Regions from separate parts of the Homo sapiens genome. Here region 2 is linked to region 1. Evidence: promoter capture Hi-C in human tissues and cell types (Jung and others, 2019). All regions are on one chromosome and are shown on one strand. Each heading gives the region's core, a stretch centred on a gene start or on the middle of the fragment in contact. The rest is flanking DNA. Distances are from core to core; before and after follow the strand shown. Region 1 holds the start of GRTP1 (growth hormone regulated TBC protein 1). Region 2 overlaps LAMP1 (lysosomal associated membrane protein 1).

The links. Contacts are between HindIII fragments. The study calls those that stand out against the background at their distance.
Region 2: a contact is called between a fragment that was not itself captured here and the fragment with the promoter of GRTP1 in region 1, in 1 of the 25 tissues and cell types used here (IMR-90 fibroblasts).

The regions. Positions count from the first base shown.
Region 1 is chr13:113,362,775-113,368,237 of GRCh38, reverse strand. It overlaps GRTP1 (growth hormone regulated TBC protein 1), which reads left to right and starts at 4,108. Exons shown (of 8, transcript NM_024719.4): 1 at 4,108-4,218; 2 at 4,328-4,476. The coding sequence starts at 4,187. RefSeq lists enhancers at 467-1,160, 1,855-2,548, 2,549-3,242 and a silencer at 4,230-4,524. The HindIII fragment of the contact is 3,925 bases long and covers 1,720-5,463 here.
Region 2 is chr13:113,320,782-113,326,362 of GRCh38, reverse strand. LAMP1 (lysosomal associated membrane protein 1) reads right to left here. Exons shown (of 9, transcript NM_005561.4): 7 at 4,893-4,959; 8 at 4,636-4,806; 9 at 2,691-4,081. The coding sequence ends at 3,942. GRTP1 (growth hormone regulated TBC protein 1) reads left to right here. Exons shown (of 8, transcript NM_024719.4): 6 at 272-444; 7 at 517-702; 8 at 1,786-2,200. The coding sequence ends at 1,875. Among named protein-coding and RNA genes, the nearest start is that of LAMP1, 26 kb to the right of the region's middle. The HindIII fragment of the contact is 7,319 bases long and covers 130-5,581 here.

The DNA.
Region 1 (5,463 bases), core at 2,859-5,358:
AGAAAGTAGAAGAGTGGTTGCCAGGAGCAATAAATAAATAAATTGAGAGCGTTTTAAAAAATCTAGACTTGGTACTGTTTCTGAAAGGATGATTGCAAGTGTGTCAGACCGGTGAGGTCTCAAGAGTTGGGCAAAACGCGGTTTTCTTGTGTGCAGTGGAGCAGCAGGTGTGGGGAGGGGGGGTGGGGGGCCTGTTGACCAGGCAGCAATGCGAGAAAGCTGCATCTGAACCCCTGCCCAGGCTGAGGCTGGGCACGCAGTCAAGGCCCTGGTAGAGACTTAACCAGAACTGGTCACTGGGCCCATGGTCAGGGCCCTGGAGGAGACTTAACCAGAACTGGTCACTGGGCCCACGGTCAGGGCCCTGGAGGAGACTTAACCAGAACTGGTCACCAGTGTATTTGGTTCCAATTAGAACAACAGTTCAGTTACATATTTATGAGGCAAAAGACAGGACTTTGGAGGATGTGTCCAGCCTTGTCACAGGTAAATAAGGGACATCATGAATCTCATCTTTGTCACCTGGGGACAGGGTTCTGAGCTGTTTCCAGAACATAAAGGGGGGGACTTCCTAACCTCCCAGGATCATAGGGCTCAGGTAAAGCTTATCTGTCAATTTTCCTTAAAAATAATCATTACTGTTATATATTATTATGTATGTATATACACACACACCTCAGATGAGGGCTTGACTCTCCCTGAAATATTAACACACCCTTTCCACCTATAACATTGCCCCCTCGCCGCCGATTTCTGTCTCCAGCCCTCTGCTGAAAATCAGGCCACGGGTTCCACAGCCTGGCTGCACAATGCGGTCCATGGGCCAGAGCAGGGCCTCCTGCTAGCAGGTTGGAAATGCAGCGTCCCAGTCCCCAGCCAGCTCTGCAGCACCAGGACCCACAGGTCTCTGGCAAGACCTGTCCTCCCCTCAGGGCTAGAGTCGCACTGCACTGGAATTTCCTGCAGTGAGATTTGGGTGACCCTCCCCACTCCCAGTTGCCCGTCTCCTGTAACCAGGCAGCATGTGGTCAATTGACTGGCTTCAGCCTCCAGGACAGCCTGGAGCTCCGTGGGGTTTGGCACATGCTGTGGCTCCACGAAGATGCCCACGTCATGGTTCATCACTGCTCGGTGGGTTCTGCTGCCGTTATCTTTGTCCTCTGTACTCACATCCCATTTTCTCAGGTCCTCCCGGCCTTGGGGATGCTAGACGTTCCTTCTATCTTGATGGGCACCCCAGAACTGAAGTACTCCTGAAGCCCTTCTAACTTCCAAAGGGCAGCAGCTTCTACAAAAAAAGCAACAAGGGCCAGGCACAGTGGCTCGCGCCTGTAATCCCAGCACTTTGGGAGGCCAAGGTGGGCGGATCACCTGAGGTCGGGAGTTCGAAAACAGCCTGGCCAACATGGAGAAACCCCCGTCTCTACTAAAAATACAAAATTAGTTGGGCGTAGTGGCGCATGCCTGTAATCCCAGCTACTTGGGATGCTGAGGCAGGAGAATCGCTTGAACCCAGGAGGCGGAGGTTGCAGTGAGCCGAGATTGAGCTATTGCACTCCAGCCTGGGCAACAAGAGTGAAACTCCGACTCAAAAAAAAAAAAAAAAAAAAGCAACAAGACGGCTGAATTCCTGAAGGGAGGAGGGGCATCATGGGTGGTGACCCCACAGAGGCCCCCTGGTGTGGCCCCTGAGGCCCCTCAGACTGAAGAGGGCCTCCTGCAAGGGAGCTGGGTCCCCCGGGGGAGGGTGAATTCTGAGTCCCTGAACTGCAGGGCAAGCTGACCCAGAGCTCCAGCACTGCAAAGCCTCCCCCGGAAAGGGCTGTCTGGAGCGGCTGTGGCCAGCACAGTCACTCCTGGGGTGGGTGTGCACCTGGCTTTTGCATCATGGCTGACTGTGCTGGTGGCTTCACAGAAAGGGAGTTTGTGTGAGGATGCTCGGGTGCCTGCTGGGTGCTTGGCACTGGGGTCGGGGGGGCGGTGAATGGAGGCACCTGAGGGACACAGTCCCAGGTGGGAGCTGTCCCAGGTGGGAGCTGTTCCAGATAGGAGCTGCTGTCTCCCAGTCAGGTCCCAGGTTGGGGCTTGGCCAGGCCTGGGCTGGAGCGGGAGACCTTTCTAGCTGCCTCGGTCTGGCTGCCCACCCTGCACAGAGCCTGGGGCTCTGGCCTCTCTGTATCTCTCCTCTCCACTCTTCCTGGAGGGCACCGCTCTTATCTGACCTGCTCCCCCACAGTCTCCCTACATCTGGCCCAAAAATACACTTGGTGGCAGTCCCGCCATCACACTCAGGCTCGGGAGCTGGCGGCCCCTGGTCCGTGCTGCCTGCCACGCTGCTTTCCACGGCAGTGGTGGGAAAGGGAGGTTAGAACCCCATCTCCATGGCCAGAAGGCAGGAATTAGGGAAAAGGGGAGCCGTGAGGCTTCCAGGCCTGGGGTTGGAACAGAAGCTGCGCGGTGTGGGGCGATTTGGGCGCAGGACCCCGGGTGCTGGGAAGTGGGGAGCAGGACTGTGTCTGTTGCTCCAGAAAGCGCGAGGGATGCGATATAGGAAATTCGGGCGTCAGTTAGAGCCCGAGAGGGGTTCAGGGAGTCACTGACTTAGGCAGAGAGGAGCCCAGACGGGGTTCGAAGACCCTGGGGACGGACGCCCACCTGTCAGTCCTGGACTGTGGGGCACCCGTAGGCCGAGGGGCAGGAGGCTATGGCCCTGTCTCCTGGCTTGGGTCTAAACATCCCAAGGAGGTCAGACCGTAGAGTGGGGGCTGTGTGATCTTTCAAATGAGGGACGCCGCGTGTTACCAAAGGCCAGTGCTGAGGAGCTGGGCTGAAAGCTTGGGGAGTTCCCAGAACCAGCAGACTAGGAACGGGAGGAACCGTGTCGGGGGCTCTGCTCCGCTGGGCACTGACCCCCACCCCGCCCCCCGGTCTTGCAAGGGCTGGAGAAGGGTGAAAGGCAGAGGCGGGAGTCCGCACTTAGGGACCGGTCCGTTCCACACGCTGCTGACCAGGCTCCTGGGTGGCGCTCGCATGGAACATTCCGGAAACACCCATGGGAAGGTCCCAAGTTGGTTCCGAAAGGCCCTGACGGACGCGCAGGGGACGCTGAGCCTGTGATCCTCGCCTCACCCAGACGAGGCCGGGCTGCTTCTCACAGGAAAGTGCGTCTGGAGTCCGGGGACGGCCTCCTCCTGGGGCCTGTCCAGGTCGCCCTGGGCCTAAATTACAGGCGGGGAGAGGCCTGTCGGAGGAGCCCCCGCTCCAGACCCCTGGGGGACCCAGGGCGAGGTCGCCCCAGCGCCTCACGTCTGGGGGCTCCCCTTTGCCACGTCGCCAGAGCAAAATTCAAAATCTGCAGTTCTGGCAAATTTCCGGGGCCTCCCGGACACGAAAAGCAGCTGAAATCTCAGGACAATGTCATTGGATGCGGACCGAGAAGAAGCCGTTCGGAACCAGAGCTGCCCCGGATTCTCCCAGGCCTGGCTCGCCGGTGGGGGGACCCCGGTCCCTGGTTTGGGGGGGCAGGAACGGGCGGGCGCCCCTGGGGGCTTCTCATTTGTGTGTTGGTCTCGGCCTTGAAATGCAGCGGAGAAAATAAAAAATAAAATAAAAATAGGAGTCAGGTGTCAGAGTCGGGTCGGCCAGGCACTGAGGTTTGAAGGAATCGCAGAAGAAGCTCCTCTCACCCGGGTCCAGGCCGCGGGGGTTCTGCGGGAGGCGCCCCCGATTCTGCCCGCGGGACGCCGCGGCCTCGGAAGCCCCGGGAGCAGGCCCCGCCCCGCCCCCACCCTCCTCTCTCCCCAAGTCCTCCCGCCCCCCCAGCCCCGCCCCTCCCCCGCCCTGGGTGCTCCCCTGCCCCTCCCCCGGCCCTCCCCCGCCCCTCACCCGCTCCTGCCCCTCCTCTCTCCCCAGGTCCTCCCGCCCCCAGCCCCGCCCCTCCCCCGCCCTGGGTGCTCCCCTGCCCCTCCCCCGCTCCTGCCCCTCCTCTCTCCCCAAGTCCTCCCCGCCCCCAGCCGCCCCTCCCCCCGCCCTGCCCCCCCCCGCCCCCGCCTCCAGCCCCGCCCCTCTCCGCTCCCCGCCCCGCCCCCACGCGCCCGCGGTCCCGCCGGAAGGACTTAAGCGCCCCGGAGCCGGGAGGCGAACTTGGGACCCGCTGGCCTCGCTCGGTGCGCGCCTCCCTCCCCGCATGCAGCCCGCCGAGCGCTCGCGGGTCCCCAGGTGTGTGGCGCGGGGTGCGGGCGTCCCCGGCGGCTGCGGTCCCCGCGCGGGCCCGCGACCCCCCAGAGGAAACTTCGGGGACGCCGGCCTCCTTCTCTCGGTTTTGCAGGATCGACCCGTACGGATTCGAGCGGCCTGAGGACTTCGACGACGCCGCCTACGAGAAGTTTTTCTCCAGCTACCTGGTCACGCTCACCCGCAGGGCGATCAAATGGTCCCGGCTGCTGCAGGGCGGGGGCGTCCCCAGGAGCCGGACAGGTGGGTCCCGGGGGCGCAGGTGGGTCCCGAGGGCGCAGGTGGGTTGGGCTGGGACGGGCCGGGCAAAGTCCGGGCTCCCGGAGCGGAGGGAGGGGGAGGAACCTTTCCGGGCAGGTCGGGACGAAGCTGCGGGCTCCGAGCTAGGGCAGCCGCAGGGACCGGTTTTCCCGCTTTGAGATGGGCCGGCGGGTCGGACGCGAAGGAGACCCGTCCCTCCCAGCAGGGAGCCATATCGGGATGGATCAAAACTCGATCCATGCCGGGCGCGGTGGCTCACGCCTGTAATCCCAGCGCTTTGGGAGGCCGAGGCGGGCGGATCACGAGGTCAGGAGTTTGAGACCAGCCTGACCAACATGGTGAAACCCCGTCTCTACTAAAAATACAAAATTAGCCGGGCGTGGTGGCTCCTGCCTGTAGTCCCAGCTACTCTGGAGGCTGAGGCAGGAGAATCGCTTGAACCCAGTAGGCGGAGGTTGCAGTGAGCCGAGATTGCGCCATTGCACTCCAGCCTGGGCGACAGAGCGAGACTCCGTCCTTGTGACGGGACCCACAGGGCCCTGCTCGACCTGCCGCTCCTCCGCGACCCCAGGCCTCCTACTGCTGCGGTGAGCACCGGCCTGACCGCCCGCCCGCCTCGGGGTTAGCTGCAGGGCCCCCTCCTCCGGGGCGCCCCAGGCTTCCCTGTGCGGAGGGCACCTCCTCATTTCTGCCTTTCCCAGCACAGCCCCTGCTGGAGTCAAAAACCCTTCCTCCCTGCAACGGATTTTTCATTCACTGCTCAGTCCTCAGAACCTGGGGCAGTGCCAGGCGACTTCCCTGTGTGTTCAGTGAATGAATGAAGTGTCTGCCTGGGGTGAGGGCTTGGTGGGAGTGTGCCCTGGAGCTAGGAACTCAGAGAAGTGGGGTCAAAGGGGAGTCCTGGGGGCTTCCTGAGAAGGGGGATGTGAATGGCAGCTGGGCTTCCAGGGACCGAGCAGTAGGGACCTG
Region 2 (5,581 bases), core at 2,540-5,039, 42 kb after region 1:
ACCTGCAGATTTTAACTGATGCCCAGCCAGGCGGCATCCAGCCTATCCCTCCAGCCTCAGGGACGTCCTGAAAGGCCTGGCTGTGGGGGTCGCTCCCCATGAGCCCTGTGTCTGCAGGCCTCACCCCGACTCTTCCTCTCCAACTTTGTCCCTCCCTCTTGGGAGGGGTCCTCCCAGGGTGGCCCTGTTGTCTTTGTCTGGCTCTGAGGGGAATGGGGCTTGTGGAGGTGACGGGAGTGTCTCGGGGTCTTTTCTCCACATTGCCTGGCAGATTACTACAGCCCGGCCATGCTGGGCCTGAAGACCGACCAGGAGGTCCTCGGGGAGCTGGTGCGGGCGAAGCTGCCGGCTGTGGGGGCCCTGATGGAGCGTCTCGGTGTGCTGTGGACGCTGCTGGTGTCCCGCTGGTTCATCTGCCTGTTTGTGGACATCTTGCCCGTGGAGGTGAGCGCCTCACTCGGGCCCTGGGGCGGGCGGGCCGCCAGGGAGTGACACCGGGTTCCCATGTCTCTGCAGACAGTGCTTCGGATCTGGGACTGTTTGTTTAACGAAGGCTCGAAGATTATCTTCCGGGTGGCCCTGACCTTAATTAAGCAGCACCAGGAGTTGATTTTGGAAGCCACCAGCGTTCCAGACATTTGCGATAAGTTTAAGCAGATAACCAAAGGGAGTTTCGTGATGGAGTGTCACACGTTTATGCAGGTGTGTGGGGCTGCACGTGGCTCAGTCCCCTCCCAGGGGGCCCCGCCTCACCTGCAGCCCGGGGGCTGCTCTGACCACCCGGAGGGTGCACAGGACGGGCACCAGTGGGCATAGGGCACAGGATGAGCCTCCAGCTCTGTCCTGCATCTGCCCCCTGCGCCTGGCCTCCGAGGGCTTTCCTGTCTATGGCGGCCCTGTCTTCTTGGCCCTGGCACTGCGGACGCTGCTCCTGGTCCTAATGGCTGTACTCATCTGCTGTGTGTGGTGCCAGAAGTGTGGCTTCCCGAGGCCCGGCCTCCCCACTGGGTCCTGGACCTGGCGCAGGCCGTATAGACTCAGGTCCTGATGAGGGCGTTGTGGGAGCTGTACCTGACAGGCCTTCTGAGGAAGCCAAGACGCCAGGAGAGGCTCAGGCCTGGGAGTCAGTAGTTTCCTAAGAGGGAGTGGAGGCTCGGGGCCACTCTGGGTGCAGCATGGCAAACGTGGGCGGTATTTCAGCAGCTGGGCCTTCATCAAAGAGAAGACCATGTTGGCCGGGCGCGGTGGCTCACGCCTGCAGTCCCAGCACTTTGGGAGGCCAAGGCGTGTGGATCACCTGAGGTCAGGAGTTCAAGACCAGCCTGGCCAACACGGTGAAACCCCGTCTCTACTAAAAAATACAAAAATTAGCCAGGTGTGGTGGCTCACGCTTATGTAGTCCCAGTTACTCGGGAGGCTGAGGCACGAGAATCACTTGAACCTGGGAGGCGGAGGTTGCAGTGAGCCGAGATCGCGCCACTGCACTCCAGCCTGGGCAACAGAGTGAGACTCTGTCTCAAAAAAAAAAAAAAAGTCTAATGGAAGCAGATGGCCTTTTCTTCCACCGTTTGATTCATTTAACATTTCTGAGCAGCAAAGCTGCAGTCCTAGGCCCCAGGGCAGGAGTGAGATGGTGACAATCTGTGGGTCACCCCAGAAGCCCTTGGATGTGGACTGCTCCTCCCTCACCTCACACGAGGCCTGTCTGCCTGCCTGCCAGTCTGGGAGAGCTAACGTAGAAATGGGTTGTTGGGTTTGTTTTTAAACTAACTGTTTGCCTTCCAGAAAATATTTTCAGAACCTGGAAGCTTATCCATGGCCACCGTCGCCAAGCTCCGCGAGAGCTGCAGGGCCCGGCTGCTGGCACAGGGGTGAGCGTGCCTGTCCCCTGCGTTGCTCGTCTCTACACTGACGATGCCCCTTTCCAGAGTTGACACTGGACCAACTTTCACTGCTTTCCTTTTTAGTGTTGTAAATACTTGACATCACTACACTTTAGTTGTGAATTTTTTAAAAGAGCAGTTTAAAATCAGGTCATTCTACCAGCTTTTGATGATTAGCTATGAAGTCATACTTTTTAAAGAAAACTTATTTTTACCTGAGAGATCAATAATATATAAAATGTGAGTGTGGGTTTGTATCTAATAAAGTATGCCAACACCTGTGTTTGTGATCAGTTTCTCAGCTGACTGGAAATTAACATAGTGAGTGGTCACTGAGGTCTTACAGCGGCAGTGTCAATATTCCATTCCTTTCTGTGACAGAGCGTGCAGTTTATGTGAGGCTTCTGCACGTAGTAGGTGATTTCTCTTTAGAAAGATCATTTTCTCCCTTCAACTTTTAACTTCTGGGTACAGGTGGAGGGTGTACAGGTCTGTTGCACAGGTAAACGTGTGCCGTGGTGATGTGCTGCACAGACCATCCTGTCACCTAGGTATGAAGCCAGCATCCCTTAGCTATTCTTCCTGATGCTCTCCCTGCCCCCGACCCAACGGGCCCCAGTGTGTGATGTTCCCCTCCTTGTGTCCATGTGTTCTCATCAGAAGCTCCCACTTACAAGTGAGAACAAGTGGTGTCTGGTTTTCTGCTCCTGTGTTAGTTTGCTGAGAATAATGGCTTCCAGCTCTATCCGTGTCCCTGCAGGGGACAAGATCTCATACCTCTTTATGGCTGCATAGTATTCCATGGTATCTGTATGAAAGGTAATTTTTTTAATGATTTAAAAATTATCATGTTACATGAATGAACCAGACAACTGTGCCAGGCACTCGGGCCACTCCCAACACCATTCCCTACGTCTGGCACCAAGACCACCCTCACCCCCCGTTTCCCTGACACCCTTCTCTCTGCACCGAGACCACCCTCAACCCCGTTTCCCTGACGTCCTTCTCTCATGAGCTCCCATTTTAGCTGACAGAAGGACAAGGCCCACCCCAAAAAGAAAGAGGCTTTTTATTACATTGTTACAGGCAATGCATTACGTGAGCTGGTCCCGTGTACAATCCCCAAGCCACGGCAAAACATCAGGAGAACGCACCGATCTCACATTGTACACAGCGCAGAACAGGATCACCCCGAATGTCAACAGAAGACCAAAAATCACTTTACAAATAAAAATAAAAATAACACCCATTTTTATATTTAAAAAAGTGCCAGCCCTTGAGCTGCAGACATTAGAGACGCCCAAGGACGTGCCGCCACTGGAACGAGGCCGCCAGCCACGTGTGGCCCGTCCTGGCCTTTAAAGCTGAACTGAAGCGCTCCAGACACTCATCTCTGGAGTTCCTCTGTCTTAGGATGTTCCCTCTCTACTGTTGTAATGTGTGAGCATGTCAGCCTCACCACGAGTGACCTTCATGCGTCCTACGTGTGACGGCCAGAGGCTTTCCCTTTGTAAGGCTTAAATCTGAGTGCAGTAAAGAATGAAGAAACCAAACACCAGAACCCTAAACTCAAATGATATGGAGCCAATTTAGAGCGGCACCCCCACCCCTCAGAGACAGCGGCATTCCACCCCTCGGAGAGAGCAGCACCCCCACCCCCTCAGAGAGAGCGGCACCCCCACCCCCTCAGAGAAAGCGGCACCCCCACCCCCTCAGAGAGAGCGGCACCCCCACCCCTCAGAGACAGCGGCACCCCCACCCCTCAGAGACAGCGGCACCCCCACCCCCTCAGAGAGAGCACCCCCACCCTCAAAATCCTACTTTGGTAAATATTAATGTTTAACCAGTTAGCAAAATATTTAACCCAGTTAGCAAAATTAACACCGTCATTTCGATAGTTACTCTGTTGTGCATAGTAAATGCTGCAAGATGAACTTCACATTGGATGAAGCAGATTTGAGAAACGTTTGCCAGAAAGTGTGCCTCCCCTTCGACAGGACCCTAAGCCCAGAGAAAGGAACAGAGGCCCCTGCAGCTGCTGTGCCTGCGTGCACCAGGCTAGATAGTCTGGTAGCCTGCGTGACTCCTCTTCCTGCCGACGAGGTAGGCGATGAGGACGATGAGGACCAGCCCCGCCAGGGCACCACCCACAGCGATGGGGATCAGCATGCTGTTCTCGTCCAGCAGACACTCCTCCACTGCCAAGACAGACGGATGGTGTCAGGGCTCTGCTCACACAGGGGCCTGCAAACAGGCCTCTCTCCCCACCACTCCCCCACATCAGCCAAAAGGCAAAGAGGAACCCTGGCGGAAGGTTCCAGCTCTAGCTGGAATTGTCACTTGGGGAAGCCGCTGCAGAGACTGGTGCTCTCTGCACGGCGAGGAAACCACACACGTCTCTCCCCCGTCTGGAATCAGGGGCTGTGGCCGGACAGCTGTGCTGCGTCCAGGGCCTCTGTGCACATCAGATGACAGTGTTGTATTCAACGTTCATGGGAGAAGCGCCACCACTGTTTCTTAAAATGATTCCCTTACTCTCAAATGGTACCAGGGGCTCCCAGCTGAGAGACACGCTGGGCCTCTCTAAAGCAGGGGGAGTTACCTCTAGAATCTCAGACCGGCAAGAAGAAACAGCTCCTTGCAGAGGAACAGGGGCGTCGCCCCAGCCCACACGGAAGCGACTAAACGTCCACAGGCGGAGTCTGAAGCACGTCCTCCACACCCCGCGACAGCTGCCCTCGGTGACACTCACCAGAGCCAAACTGGCCACCTTCCACCTTGAAAGCCTGGACCCACACTTTGAATATATTGACTGAAAACGCCTTCGTGACACGGACGTGCTCCTCCGCGTTGCACTTGTAGGAATTGCCGACTGTGGCCTGCAGCGCTCGCAGGGAGCCGTTGGCAGCTTTAAAGGCAGGGTCTGCAACACACACAGAGGTCTAGTGGCTCCAGAATACCCTGGGCGCGCGGGCGGGGGCGGGGCTCGCAGAGATTGTGGGTTCTCACCTCTGGCGTCAGGAAGAATTGTATTCAACTGGATTCCTTGTAGGAAAAACCGGCTAGAACTTGCATTCTTAAAAAGAAAAATGATCTTTAATCACGGAGCAGATTCATAGAAAGATGATCTTTAACCCCAGTAGATTCACACATTTATCATCAAACGTGAATGGTCATTGGGTAATAAACCTGACTTCCTACATTTCTAGTATTAGAACAAAACTGCAAAAGATCTTGTCTATAAAAGGCGTTGTGTATCTCTGGGGAATGAAAATTTTGGTTAGTTCCTTCCAGACCCTTCTCTGAGAGTCTTGCTCTGTCACCCAGGCTGGAGTGCAGTGGAGTGATCACGGCTCATCGCAACCTTAACTCCTGGGCTCAAGTGATCCTCCCACCTCAGCCTCCCAAGTAGCTGGGACCACAGGTGTGCGCCACTACGCCCAGCTAACTCGTTTTATTATTTGCAGAAATGGAGCCTCCCTGTGCTGCCCAGGCTGGTCCTTCCAGACCTCTTGAGAGTCAGTCTCTGGAAAACGGGGACTGCAGGAGCTATCACAGCACAGGAAAGCATGATTTGGAAAGCTAAAATTATAAGAAACTGAACTGTTAATTCATTTGCACAGCGATTTAAAAAGACTGACAAGTGACAATTATATGCTTCATGTCTTATGTTGCTAACTGCACAGGAGTCCTCCCAG